Regions from separate parts of the Homo sapiens genome. Here all the other regions are linked to region 2. Evidence: promoter capture Hi-C in 16 types of primary human blood cells and fetal thymus (Javierre and others, 2016). All regions are on one chromosome and are shown on one strand. The core of a region is centred on a gene start or on the middle of the fragment in contact, and the rest is flanking DNA. Distances in the headings are between cores, read along the strand shown.

Region 1 (4,783 bases), core at 461-2,960, 2.6 Mb before region 2:
GGAAGCCAACTGTCAGAGTGGAGAGGTGGTTGGAACTTAGGAGTATGGCTCACTCCTGCTTTGTTTTAGAGGCTACTGGTGGTTACTCTTAATGTTGTAGACTAAGGATAGCAGCATAAACATTCCAGATTGTCAAGATTGAAAAGCTACGTAAATTGACAAAGGTCTATGTAAATTGACATTTTTGAGTTGCCTTTTTGAGGCTATAATTCTTCCCCTTTTTGTTTCCACAATGGGGAAAATCGCCTTACTAGCTCAATATCTGGATATGTTTGTTGTGGATGTCTATGTTCCTTTCTTTCCCTCTCCTGGGCAACAATGGCAGTTTTGGAGACTCCTTGGAGACCACAGTACCATTACGCACATGGTGGAGCCCCTTGTGAATGCCTAAGCTTGTGGATGTTCTGAAGGGGGCAATAATTGGAGTAATGGTCATGGCGAGAAGTGCTTGTATTTGTATTGGTCCATCATTGCATAATAGGCTTATATGTTATATGTATCTATTTCCTATTGAGGATCTCTTTTTTACAGTTGATTTTTCTTGAGGGATTTTAAACTATCACCTGCCAGTATTTGAGCGCTTGCCGAAGTGTGCACTCAATGCTTTGAGATTTCCCAAATGTATAAAATCCTAGTCCTTGCCTTCAAGGAACTTACAACTTTTGTTGATAAATTGGTAAACCTAGAGAGAAGGCAACAATGAAATGCAGCATATAATGGAAATGCTAAGTGAGAGGAAAGAGGCGCTGTTTGGAGGAGGGAGAGGGAATTGGCTGGGCCATCAGGGAAAGAGGCAGAGCTTGAGGCGCCTTGACCAGTTGATGAAGTGGTGGCTTTAATTTGCGATTCTTGTGCAAACATTTGATAATGGGAATTGGATGTGTAGGTATTGGGCTTTCTCGTGGACACTGAAATTCCATTCATTGAACAACACCTTATTTCCTGTATAGAGAATGGTGCTAGGGGCCAGCGTCAAATTTGAAGATGAAGTCTGACTGAAGGTCATCGTTTGGAGTTGGGGTGGGGTGAAGAGTAGACAAACCTTAAAATACAGAGACGAGTGCTGCAGTGAGCACGCGTGAGTGCTTAGGCAGCGCTTGAAGAGGGAGTTACCGATTTGGCCCTGGAAGTCAGGAAGGCTATCCTTTTAAGGTGATCCCTGAGCTGGGAGTTTGTTTCAAACGGTGGGGACCGCAGGTAGAAGCACCGCTTAAGGGGAACGGCGATTCGACTCGCAGTGACTTAAGGGTTGGCGTGGTGCTTGTTCCTGGGCGTGGGGAGGACAGGAAACCGCGGGGTCTGTGAGACGCCCCGTGGTTGTTGAAACGCTGTTGGGGGGCACAAACGAATAGGGCTTTAGGAAGAAAACTGGTGGGAGGAGCCTTGTGGCTCCAAGGTAGGTTAGGAACTGGAGCGAGATGGAGCACGGAGGAGTGAGGCGGCCCGAAGGATGCCCGGGGAGACATGGAGGAACTGGCGAGGGCTTCCCGATGCAGGGCCTGGGGGAGAGGGTGAACTAATGCCTCTGCAGTGCCCCGTGGGGAAGTTCCGCATACTCGGCCAGAGTGATCGGAGTTGGCGGCTGTCTGGGGGAGTTGGGTCAGGAAGCCCCTTCTTTCGCCACCGATGGGGCACGTCCAGGGCCCGGCAGGTGTGCCCTGGCAGTAGATCTTCCCTGGGAAGTGGAGCGCGGGCCAGCCCTCGCTGTTCTGAGCGAGGGCCTGTCGTGTAGTCCACACCGTTCCGCGAAAGGAACCACCATTGACAGCCTCGTTCGATTAGAACCCGGACCTCCCTGGAATCCAGACTCGGTCCCTTCCCAGCTGCGCTTCGGAGGAGGCGGACGCTCCGAGAGGAACCCAGAGGCCTGGCGTGGGGGGAGCTGCGGGCAGAGCGGAGGCAGCCGCGCCCTCGCGCCGCCCTCCGCCGCGCCCGGCTCCCGCCCCCCGGATCCCACCCCCGGCCTGCCGCGGAGCCAGCGTGCCAGCCGGAGCTCGCCGGGCCACCCCGCGGGGCGCGCGGCCCGGGCTCCGGGTCTTGGCGGCGGCCGGTGGGGCGGGCATGGGGTGGGGTGGGTGCTCCACCTGGCCACGCCGCCGGCCCTTCGCGGGCTGGCCCGGCCCCGGACGGGCGGGCGCACGGAGGCCGCCTCTTGGGCTCCTCCTGGAGGGAGGCGCGCGGTAGACGGCGCGGCCGCTGCCGTCGGGGCGGTGGGCTCCAGACGCGGGCCGGCTCGCTCGCATGGTTCCCTGCCCCATCTCGGGTCCGTCGCTGCCCGTCCTGGTGTGCACAACCGCGCTGCGCCTCGAACCTCGAGGTCCAGGTCCCGCCTGCCCTGGGCCGGGCCGCAAGCGCCCACGTCGAGGCGGGCTGGGGGGCGGTGCCGCGGGCCAGGCCGACCCCGCAAGCGGGACTGGGGAAGTCGGAGCCCCGCCCACCACCCCGCCCCCCGCGCTCGCGGCCCCGCCCCCGACTGCCCCGCTCCTCCCCTTCCTGCCGGCTCGCTCCCGGCCCCGCCGGCCGCCCGCCTCGGCCCCGAGCGGAGCCCACTGCTCCCCTCGGCTGCCCCGCCCCGCCGCCGCCCCGCCCCTCCCGCGCGGGCGGCCCGAAAACCCGGAGCGCGGGAGCGCGGCTCCGCAGGGCCGGGCGGCCGCACTGGGCATGCTCAGTAGCCGGGGCAGGTTTTTTGGTCGCAAGTAGGAAGCTTTCTGCACTACACCGGAGAGGGGAGCCGCGATCCGGCCGCGCCGCCCGCACGCCGCCGCGCCCGCCCCAGCCCGCCCGGCCCCGCGGCGGGGCGCGATGAGCCCGAGCGCGAGCCGGCCCGCCGGGGAGTGAGCGCGGGGCGCCCAGGGCGCGTTGCGTAGCTGCTCCTGCGCACAACCCCGCCGCGCCGCCGGCCCGCACTGGCCGCGGAGTGCAAGAGGCTCGTCCGTGCCCAGCGCCCGGCCGGCCGCGGGAGCAGGAAGCGCAGGCCACGCAGGACCCAACTGAAACAAAGTGTCGGCCGCCCGGCGCCGGCGCCCGCCCCGACCCTGCCCCTCCCGCCCGCAACTCCGCCGCCCACCATGGCTTCCGAGGAGCTGTACGAGGTACCTCCCCTCCCCCCGGCCTCGGGCCGCCCCCCGCCCGCCGCCCCTCCCGGCCCGGCCGCGCCGCCCGACGGCCCCGCTCGCCGCCCGCGCCCGCCGCGTCCCCTCCCCCGCCGCGGCCGCAGTTTGCTGGACGGGAAATGTGTGTGAGGGGAGCCCGAGCCTCCGTTCCGAGGGGCCCCGGCCGGGGGGTCCTGAAGTTGCCGGGCGTGGGGTGGGGGGGGGGGTCCCAGCCGTGGGGAAGTGGTGCTGACACAAGTGACTTGCTCGGACTGAGCTCAAAGTGCTCTTGGCGTGGGTCGTGGAAGTGGTGCCTCCGTTGCCGCTCGGCGGGGACCGTGGGCGGTACGGGGGGTGGGGTGTGGGGGGGTTTCTGGATCATTTGATAAAGCATTTGGGAGAGGGTTTTGCCCCTGGTCGGGGGGTGGCGGGGAGAAGACCGGTGCAAACGCTTTCGACTTTGCTGTTCGCCAAAGCGATGCAAAATCTCGCACCGAAAATGCTAAACGTTGACCACATGCTTTAATTAGGTTAGCATTGTGGCCAGAGCCAGGAAATTTAAATTTAACGCTGATACACCGTCATTCATTTGCGCCGCAGCGTTGCAAATGAGAAGGGCATAGCCAGAACTGTAAGTTCTGGTCGATGGGTTTAAACCAGCTTCAAGTTTGAGAGTTACCAATTTGGATCTTTAGACATGTTTTGTATGTCTCCATGTAACTTCTTTTGACGTATTTCAAAGTAGACTTCCTGGGAGTACAGAAGTTTGGAAGGCTTTCTGTTCTTCTGGATAAATGATTCTCTTGTTTCACATGTATTTATAAATAAGTTCCTAAGAGACTTAAAACTTGCGAAGACTCTCTAGACTCACCTTTATGATGCGTTTAGGGACCTGGGTGTTGAGGGACTTAAGGAAGCATCTGTAACAAGTAGAGCCCTGTGGCCCCAGGGATCCTTTCAGTTGTCTTCTCTTATGGGCGTATTATTGCTGTTGGCATAGAATAGAGCTTTGTTGTCTGCGATGTTAGTCTTCTAGCAACTTTTTTGTTGCTTTTTAAGAGCAAGTGTTTGCAGAAGTTCTCAGGAGGAAGCTGCCATCTGTAGAATTAAGGGTAAGGTTGTTGCTTCTCCTTACATTGTATGTGGTCAGTATACCTTAGCTGGTACTGAAAATGTTCCATTCTTTTCAACCATTTTACACATTAGCTGTGCCCCGCTGTATTCAGGATACTATTTTAGGTCATTTGGGGATGTAAAAGAAGAAAAATCTCCCTGTTCTCAGGAGCTTTCCTTCTAGGAAGGAAAGTGTTGTGTGTCTGGAAGACACAGAAATGGAGGCTAGGATGTTTGAGGTTGAGGTCTTCCAGGTGAAGTCTGTACAGGGGGAAGTACATAGCATGAGGGTATGGGGGATTTTAGTTTCTACATTAGATCATTCTTTGGTTGTTTAGTCATGAGTGTTCACTCTTGGCATTTGCTTTTATGAGTATGATTACATAATCAGTTCCATCAGTGGATGAGAGTAGCACCTTATACGTAAGTTGTATCCTATGTGTGTAAGAATGATTCTGAAGACAGCACATTTCCCATTAGTATATTATGAACTAAGTTTAGTTCCTTCTGTGCTTATTCTATATCTTCAGGTTTCTGTTCCTAACAGAAGTTATTAATGAGTAACATTTTGTACTAAG
Region 2 (4,635 bases), core at 742-3,241:
GGCTCACGCCTGTAATCCCAGCACTTTGGGAGGCCGACGCGGGCGGATCACGAGGTCAGGAGATCGAGATCATCCTGGCTAACACGGTGAAACCCCATCTCTACTAAAAATACAAAAAAAAAAAAAAAAAAAAATTAGCTGGGCGCGGTGGCGTGTGCCTGTAGTCCCAGCTACTCTGGAGGCTGAGGGAGGAGAATGGCGTGAACCCCGGAGGCAGAGCTTGCAGTGAGCCGAGATGGCCCACTGCACTCCAGCCTGGGTGACAGAGCAAGACTCCATCTCAAAAAAAAAAAAAAAAAAAAAAAGTCTTTCAGTAACCTGTGCTTTCTTTCCATCCCATGTTGCCACACTGGTCCATATTCTCCTGACTTCCTCAGGCCTGTCCAGAGCTCCAGAGCTGAGAGTGGAAAGGATGGCCACTCACATTGATTCTATAAATTTTTGTCCTTCCAGGCCATCCATAGCCTGGAGTGACATCCCCTACCCGGTACTCCCCTGCTCTACTCAGATCAGGCTCATTTCCCTGCAGACAGATAATGTTCCTTACGAATTAAGCTTCAGTCATCTGCCCTGGCACGTGCTTCTCTCCTAAAACCTTCCCATCTACCCATTCATCTATTTTCAAAATTCCTACAATGTCTTCAGTCTCTAAATCTCTATCTTACAATTCAGCACTTGGTGATTTCGTTTACTGTTTTAGAGCTTCACCACTGTTTCAAGGGTGTTAGTGTTTGTGTTTACAGATCATAAATGTCTTGAGAGGAGCATACTTAGGGCTTTCCAATATCCCCTACTGCAAATGGACCAGTGCTGTCTACACAGCAAATATTGATTGAATAAAACCTGCATTCCAATGACTTATTTCTATCAAGCTCTTTCAATTTATAGTCATTACTCATCTGCCTGGATTCTTTTATTGAATTTCTGAATGAATAGTTTATTGAAAATTAGTTGTTTTCAAACCTATGTCATCACTTGGTAAAATATAAAAAAGTAAGCCAAGCAGACCAGTCAGGATCAGTGAAAGGCCCAACTTTATGCTCACTTCTCCCTTGTCTTTCAAATAATGCTGCCTGGATTGTGGTGAGATCTGAAAAATTCTTGCTTTGTTTTCCCAATGCAAAAAAGCGCAAAGGCCTTGTTTCTTAGTTTTCTTGTTTGTGAACCCAGCACTTCCAATTACATTTCTACAACTTTGTTCATCCCTCATGTGGCACTGCACAATCTGCCAGTTTACCTTTTTAATTTAAAGTTAGACTATTTTTTCCATCTTTCATTTGTCCTTACAGGTTTATGTTGGATTTTTAACATATTTATCAAATGTTTGAATAGATGTTCCAGAGACATTCTAAAGCTGTTTTAAGATAGGAGTTAAAAGAGGTGTCACGGGAGTTACTCGCAAAAACTATAGTTTTGTTTAAAAGCTTTTTCAGTTGTAAGACAAACTTTACCTTTTTAAAAAGCACTTATCTCATTCATTTTTCACCTCAAAACGAGACACCAAACTTTTTAAGACACAAAAGTGTGCTCACTTCCAGGATCCATAGTTTCTTGGACCCACGCTACGGACCTGGCTCTCCCTCCCTCTGCACCGGGTTTTGTGGGAGGGAGAACGCTTTCCAACCTCCTCCACCAAGGACTCTCACAAACTCGCAATCGGGCTCCCGGAGTGCTGGAACGCCCCTGTGTGACGTCCGCCCGCGCCGGGGGAACTCCGCAGAGACAGGTGCAGCCCGCGAGGCCCGAGCGACCCTACTGTGGGTGCGGTGTCTTCCCAGAGAGTGGTGAAGTTAGGAAGGTACGACCCCCTAGGCCGAACAGCCTGTGGGCTAGCTGGCGCCTCCTGCCGCAGTAAACACAAAGTGGGGTACAGAAACGAAAACTCCGGGAAGAAACGGCCAGCACGGGCCTCGCCGTGCCGGCTACTCAACACGCCTTCCTGAGAGCACAGAACATCCACAGCCCTATACAGCGCGCCATCCAGAGAGCTCCGGACTCCCAGCTCGGCGCAGGGGCGGGACTTCCGCTCAAGTCAGACTTCCGGGCGAGGCGGTGAGGGGCTTCCGGTTGGGGTGGCAGGGTGGTGGATCTGTCGGTCCCGTTTTCCCGTCGCACGTGGTGGCCACTGTTGGCTTCTGAATGGTTTGCAAGGCGGATATCCACGCCAAGGCCTTTGGATCGGCCGTGGGTACATCCGTCTGAGCCGTTCCTTTCCATCGCAGAGCGGCGGCCTCCGGCGGCGCTCTCCAGTCATGGACTACCGGCGGCTTCTCATGAGCCGGGTGGTCCCCGGGCAATTCGACGACGCGGACTCCTCTGACAGGTAGGCGGCCGTACAGTGCCCTGGCTCTGGGTACGGCTCTCTCCTTGACCGCCCCCTTGGGGTGTGGACTCTTGTTTGCGGTTTAGAGGGAGACTAGTGGTTCATCACTCAGCGTCTCTCTTGACAACCCTTTGCCTGTTTCTGCATCCCAGCTGGGTTTTTCTCCCAGTTCACGCGGCAGAGTTAAGTGAAAGCTACTTGTCAAGGGAGTCTGCGGTTCTCAGGTCGGTTAGCGTCACTGGGAGGCAGAGTTGGGGATAGCGATTAGGAAACATGGGTTTTTGCGTTTTAACCACATTTAGCGTTCAACAAATACTTACTAAGCACTTAATATGTACCACGTTCTGTCCTGGGCGCCGGAGGTAACAAGAAGAACCAACTTCCTGCTGTCATGGAACTTTACCTTCTACGTGAAAGAGAGGGCACACCATTTAAAAACCAAATAATGATGTAGACTATGCAAATCGTTTGATATACCAAGTGGTGACTGAATGGGTAGGGAAAGGTTAAGTCCAGATTTGAATGACAAGGAGCTAATCCTGGCAAGAGCAGAGGGAACAGCATTTCACACAGAAGGGACAGCAAGAGCAAAGGCCCCGAGGCCAGAGTGCCTAGAGCACAGTGGAGGTAGTTGAGAAGATTGGTAGGGTGATAGAGAAGTAAGAAGGGGGGCCAGATCATGGAGACCTTTACAAGTGATGGTGAAAAGTTCAGATATTAATGTGGGTCTTATGGAAAGCCATAGGAGGGATTTTAGCAGAAGAATGACATTATTTGCTTGGTGATTTAAAGGAATCATTCTTTCTAGGTAGATGATGTTCATGGAGGGTGGGAGTGGAACAGAGAGACCAGTTCAAAAATAATAAGGTAATCAGATTCAAAGATGGTGGGGACTAGAGCCCAGATCCTAAAGATATGTCTTGGAGGTAGAAGTGGCAGCGTTTGGTGGTAGACTGGACGTGGAGTCTGGGGAAAGAGGGATGAAGGATAACTCCTGCCTAAAAGCAAAATGAAACATATTGGAGTTATTTTGGAATTCCAAGAAAACAGCTTGTACTTTATGTTTACAGTAAGGATTCATCACATGCGGATTTTGTTAATTATTGGGGATGTTTTCAATAAATATATGTATGTTGAATGCTTTCTGTGAGTCAGATCTAGTCTTAGGTGGTAGGGAGGCATTGGTAAATACCATCCTGAATGACACAGAGCTTGCACCCTAGCAGGGGAAACCGATATTATTAAATAATTAGACTATTTGTATTCGAATTGGGTAAGTAGTACAAAGGAGAAGTGGGGGAAAAATAGGGAAGACTTCCTTGAGCAAGTGATAGTGAGCTGATACTTGATGGATGAGTAGGGGTTAGCCAGAGAAAGAGGAAGGGCATTCCAGTTTTATGGTTACGGAGAAGTGTACAAAAAGCTTTAGAGAAGAAAAGCAGCAGAAGAAACACAGCCAGCATAGCTAGTGGGTAGTTAATGGTAATGAGAGGGCACTAATTTACCATCCACCCCAGGGTATTGTAAGGATACACCAGTGATTTTCCATTGGGGAAGATGTTGCCATCCCGACTTCTACCCAGGGGACTTTTGGCAATTTCTGGAGACGTTTTTGTATGTCACAGCTGGGGGTGGTGGTACATTAGTGGCATCTGGTAAGTAGAGGCCAGAGATATGCTGCTAAAAATCCTACAGTGCAGAAGACAGTCCCCCACAACGAAGAATTATCTGGCAAAGTTACAACTTTAACATGCCACTCTAGGCAATTATATATCAATCTGTGGAGCATATGTATGAAGTCCTGGTAAGTAGCAAGTGTTTGATGATTGTCTGTTTTCTTCCTCCACATGTCCACGGGGAACCCTCAGAGCCATGGCTAATTAATAAATTGGGATTGATAATCTGAATTTACTTAAACTCGTCTGTTTTTCAGCTGGTATCTCATATTATCAGCTGCTTTTTTATGGTTTCTGTCCTTTTCTGTACATGAGAGGTAAAAACTGAGTCCTCTGTTGAATTTGGCCTGCAGACATGTTTTGTTTGGTATGCACAATTATTTGTAAAAATTGACTATGCCAGTGAAGGGATAGATTTTACACAGAAATCCAGACTTACAGCTTCACTTGAAAAATTAAGATCTGGTAACACTAGGCCTGAATTCTAATATGGCAAAAAAAAAAAAAAAAAAAGCCCTTACTGGTTGTGCTCCCTTTACCTTGGACCTCTTCTCCCAGTTTGCCAGTCCCCACTTCTATTGTGCAGCCTACTTCTCTCATTTGTAGTGCCTGGTCCCTGTATTCACCATTTCTTCC
Region 3 (4,608 bases), core at 2,076-4,575, 2.1 Mb before region 2:
GCTCCACTAGAGCTTCTTGAATCCCGGCAAAACTGTTTCATCTGAGAAGTATGCTCAGCAAATCCATGAGATGCACTGAAAACGGCAATGCCTGCAGCCAGCACTGGTCAACAGAAACGGCCCAACTGTCTCCATAATGACCCTTGACTGCATGTCACAAAACCAACGCTTCACAAGTTGAACGAATTGGCCTCATCCGCCATATTCATCTGACTTCTCGCTAACCAACTTCCACTTCTTGAAGCATCTCGACAACTTTTTGTAGGGAAAACGCTTCCTTGACTAGCAGGATGAAGAAAATGCTTTCCAAGAGTTTGTAGAATCCCGAAGCACGGATTTTTACGCCACAGGAATAAACTTATTTCTTGTTGGCAAAAACATGTTGATTGTAATAGTTCCTATTTTGATTAATAAAGATATATTTGATCCTAGTTATAATAATTTAAAATTCATGGCCCAAAACCGCAATTACTTTTGCACCAACTTGCTACCTAGGTACTATGCTAAGCACTAGGAATAGAGATAAGACAGAATTTCTGGTAACTGTGTATGTGTGATATGTGCCCTAACAAAGGTAAGAACAGGTGCTTCCTCAACATCTGCTTATCTCCCGCTTAACCCAGAAACTGGCTGTCAGGCTTGGCACAAATAAACTCAACTTTCCACCCTCTCATACTCCAACTTGCCCTCTTCTCCTTCATTCCACTCATGTAAAATGAAATACCGTTCATTCTGTCCAAGACCAACCCCACCAGCTGTGCTCTCAGGTACCACTTTTCACCTCTCGTGGGGTCCTGCTCTATCGGTTATCTACTCTCATGTTTTATTAACCAAAATTCCGGTGGGAGGTGGAGGGGGTATCTCTACTCACGGCAGCAATTTACGCACTTCTGATTCATGTCTCAACCCCCACAATCTGGGTTCTGCCATAACCACTTGACTAACAATGCTGCTCTGGTAATGGTACCAGAGGCTCTACATTGCCCTCTTTATGAACTGGATATTGCTTAGACAAGCCACCCTGCTGACCACAGCTACCTTCCCCAAACATATGACTATCTTGACTTCTGCAACACTACTCTTTACTTGATCTCCTCCCATTTCTTCAACCCTACAGTAGTTAGCCAAGGGACCATGGCGGGGGTCTCTGAGACCTTTCAGGGGATCCACCAGGAAAACTATTTTCATAGTTATCAGGAAGACATCTGCATTCTCTCATGAGTATACAGGGGAAATTACTAGACACTAAGTGATATGTGATATAGCAACAAATTGTAGATAGCAACAAATATAAGCACCCAGTTGTCTTCTATTAAGCCAAACATGAAAGAGACTTGCACTAGTGTCAAACTATCAATCTGCTGATTTAGGGGGAGGAAAAATGGTTATTCTTCATAAAAGTGTTATTTAACATAATGGATTTAGTCACTTTAAAATAGGTGTTTTTAAAAGCTTTTTTTTTCTAATATGATAAATGCGTCCCACATAAATGAAAGCTTTTTGGGGTCCTCAGTAATATTTAAGAACGTAAAAGGCCTAAGACCAGTTAAGTTGAAGAACCACATTCTTAAACTTTGTCTTCTTGGCTCTTCTTCAGCCAACTACTTCAATTTTGATGTTCCCTAGAATAGCATCCGTAGCCACGAATTTTCTCACCTTAAACTAGGATTTCTCAATCTTGGCATGACCAAACTTTTGGGCCAGCTAATTCTTTGTTAATGGGGGTTGTCCCCTGTGCATCCCTGGCCTCAGATGCCTAGCACCCCCTTTCCAAGTTGTGGCAACCAAAAACGTCTTCAGATATTGTCAAATAAAATCACCCCAGGATGAGAACTACTAACCTAAATAGTATTCCTAGATAATTCATCTAATATCTAGGTTTTAATTTGACTTATGATGATAATTCCACTTATCAAGTACCTATTCTGCACCAGGGACTATCCTAAGTACTTGATGTGTATTAACTCACCACAGTGGTGCCGACTACAGCCCCCATTAACAAAGAATTAGCTGGCCCAAAAGGTTGGTCATGCCAAGATTGAGAAATCCTAGTTTAAGGTGAGAAAATTAGTGGCTACGGATGCTATTCTAGGGAACATCAGAATTGAAGGAGTTGGCTGAAGAAGAGCCAAGAAGACAAAATTTAAGAATGTGGTTCTTGGCCAGGCGCGGTGGCTCATGCCTGTAATCCCAGCACTTTGGGAGGCCGAGGTGGGCGGATCACCTTAGGTCAGGAGTTCAAGATCAGCCTGGCCAATATGGTGAAACCCCGCCTCTACTAAAAATACAGAAATTAGCCAGGCGTAGTGGCAGGCACCTGTAATCCCAGCTACTCGGGAGGCTGAGGCAGAAGAATTGCTTGAACCTGGGAGGTGGAGGTTGCAGTGAGCCAAGATCGCACCATTGCCCTCCAGCCTGGGCAACAAGGGCAAGATTTCAACTGGAAAAAAAAAAAAAAAAAAAAAAAAAAAAAAAAAAAAAAAGAATGTGGTTCTTAAACTTATTGGTCTCAGGACCCTTTTACACTGTGTGAGATGGATCAATTATGACTCTCATTTTATAAAGAAACTGCAGAACAGAGAGTGATGTGACTTGCGTGGGGTCACACAGAGTTGGTGGTGCTGACTACTGCAGTGCTCATCACTCCTCTGAGCTTCAGAGCCCTGTGATTAACTACCTCTGCTGGGCATCCCAGGGGAAATTTACACCCAAGATACCCTAAATATGAACTAAAAAACCCTCTCTCCACAAGACCAGCTAGTTCTGTATTACCTGAGTCAGTTAATGGTGCAAGTTTAAATTCACCCTCTCTGTGCTTTAGCTTAACCAGAAACCTGGATGCCATTCTAGACTCTGCTTGGATTCTCTTCTTCCTTAGTCCTCAATCCAATCATTCCAGTTCCAACAATTTTCCCTTCTAATGATTTATCAAATACAACATTCTTCTCTATCTTCCACTATTCCTGTCCTTACTAGCGTCCTAATCTCTACTCTGCACTGTTGTAATCAACTCCCATTTGATGTCCTTGGCCCCTCAAAATCATCTTCTACACTGCTGCCAGAGTGATCTATCAGAAAATGCAAATCTGGTCATGTCAGGTTAGTGGCTGCCTGTGAGCTAAGGGTAAAGTCCAGGGTCCTCAGCACGGCCCCCAGGCCCTCAAATCAGTGGCCCTCTCCAACCTCAGTGCCTTCCTGTCACCGCCCCCCCAACCCCATCATACTTACCTCCCTGGCAGTGCTGTGCTGTTTGCCTGCCTGACCACACCAAGCTGCTTCATGCCTTTGATCCAACATCACCCCTTGGGAGGCCTTCTAGATTCCACACCTTGTACATCCTTCTGTCACAGCACTTAACCCAGTCTGTGACAACTATCTCTGTACCTGTGTCCCACATAGGCCTGTAAAGCCATTGATAACAGGTGCCTAGCTTAGTTCAAAAATCTCATCTTTCTCTCTCCAGGGCTTGGTATAGCAGGGGTCCCCAACCCATCAGTACTGGTCCGTGGCCTGTTAGGAACCGGGCCACACAGCAGTTGAGCGGTGGGTGAGTGCGCATTATGGCCTGAGCTCCATCTCCTGTCAGATCAGCGGCGGCATTAGATTCTCATAGGTGCACCTATTGTGAACTGTGCATGTGAGTGATCTAGGTTGCATGCTCCTTATGAGAATCTAATGCCTGATGATCTGAGGTGGAAGAGTTTCATCCCGAAACCATCCCCTCCCTTGACCCGGTCCATGGAAAAACTGTCTTCCATGAAATTGGTTCCTGGTGCCAAGAAGGTTGGGGATAGCTGTGATATAGCACTGGGCAAAGCATGCTTCAGAGATGTTTTGTAGAAGCACTGAGGTAAAAGAATGACACACAGCAATGAGACCTGTTTGGCTGGTGGGAGGGATGGGAGTGGAAGCTGTGGGATGAAGAGAGTTGGGAAAACTTTTGTTCAGAGAAGGTGACAATTGAGCTCAATCTTGAAGGAAGAGGGGGCACTCTAGACAGGAGTGATAAAGGGCCTGCTGGATAGAACAGTACTTGTAAAGGCCTGGAGGCCCAACAGGACGTGGCACATTTAGGAAACTGCAACTGATGATGACAGAGGACAGGATGCACATGTGGGACTTAGGCTGAGACTGGAGGAGCAGACAGGGCTCCTGCTATCAAAACGTGGCCTATATTATAGGTCTTGCAAGAGAGTTCCAAAGTATTTATTTCACTACTCTAATTACTTAAGGCACAATTCGCAGGTCATTAAAAAACGTTTACTAGTCTGCTTTTGATTGCTTATTCAGCACTACCTGTGTTAGTTTTGATAGGTAACTTAAGCTCCCTGTGCCTCAGTTGCCTTACAGGGTAATACAAATAGTACCTACCTCACAAGATTATTGTCAAAACAAATGTGTTAATAGACATGAAGAACATAAGATAGCAGTGGCACACAGAATTGATAGTGGATGTTGTGTTGCTATTGATTTGCCATCAGTGACAAACAGCTGCAGAGATTAGAGAGGAGGGAAGGGACTTTTCCTGAAATTCACAAGACACAGCCTTAATGTAAAAGGACGTATTTTTATAACAAGTAAGTTTATCTAGGGAGGTAATAGCAGGAA

What was found. The method cuts DNA at HindIII sites, captures the fragments that hold promoters and counts their contacts. A CHiCAGO score of 5 or more calls a contact.
Region 1: the fragment with the promoter of CDYL-AS1 here is called in contact with the fragment with the promoter of CAGE1 in region 2 in 1 of 17 cell types (activated CD4 T cells); the score reaches 5.7 in activated CD4 T cells.
Region 3: a fragment that was not itself captured here is called in contact with the fragment with the promoter of CAGE1 in region 2 in 2 of 17 cell types (naive CD4 T cells and activated CD4 T cells); the score reaches 8.7 in naive CD4 T cells.

The regions. Positions count from the first base shown.
Region 1 is chr6:4,773,716-4,778,498 of GRCh38, forward strand. It overlaps CDYL-AS1 (CDYL antisense RNA 1), which reads right to left and starts at 1,711. Exons shown (of 2, transcript NR_183279.1): 1 at 1,557-1,711; 2 at 811-1,042. CDYL (chromodomain Y like) reads left to right here and starts at 2,689. Exons shown (of 7, transcript NM_004824.4): 1 at 2,689-3,092. The coding sequence starts at 3,069. RefSeq lists an enhancer at 1,380-2,033 and silencers at 1,841-2,470, 2,491-3,040. The HindIII fragment of the contact is 2,312 bases long and covers 391-2,702 here.
Region 2 is chr6:7,387,751-7,392,385 of GRCh38, forward strand. CAGE1 (cancer antigen 1) reads right to left here and starts at 1,992. Exons shown (of 14, transcript NM_001170692.2): 1 at 1,452-1,992. RIOK1 (RIO kinase 1) reads left to right here and starts at 2,058. Exons shown (of 17, transcript NM_031480.3): 1 at 2,058-2,323. The coding sequence starts at 2,253. RefSeq lists enhancers at 1,671-1,730, 1,741-1,790, 1,921-2,340, 1,944-2,730. The HindIII fragment of the contact is 2,322 bases long and covers 1,423-3,744 here.
Region 3 is chr6:5,254,048-5,258,655 of GRCh38, forward strand. All of the region lies in intron 1 of LYRM4 (LYR motif containing 4), which reads right to left. It also overlaps a transcript of FARS2 not described here. Among named protein-coding and RNA genes, the nearest start is that of LYRM4, 4.6 kb to the right of the region's middle. The HindIII fragment of the contact is 3,663 bases long and covers 1,495-4,608 here.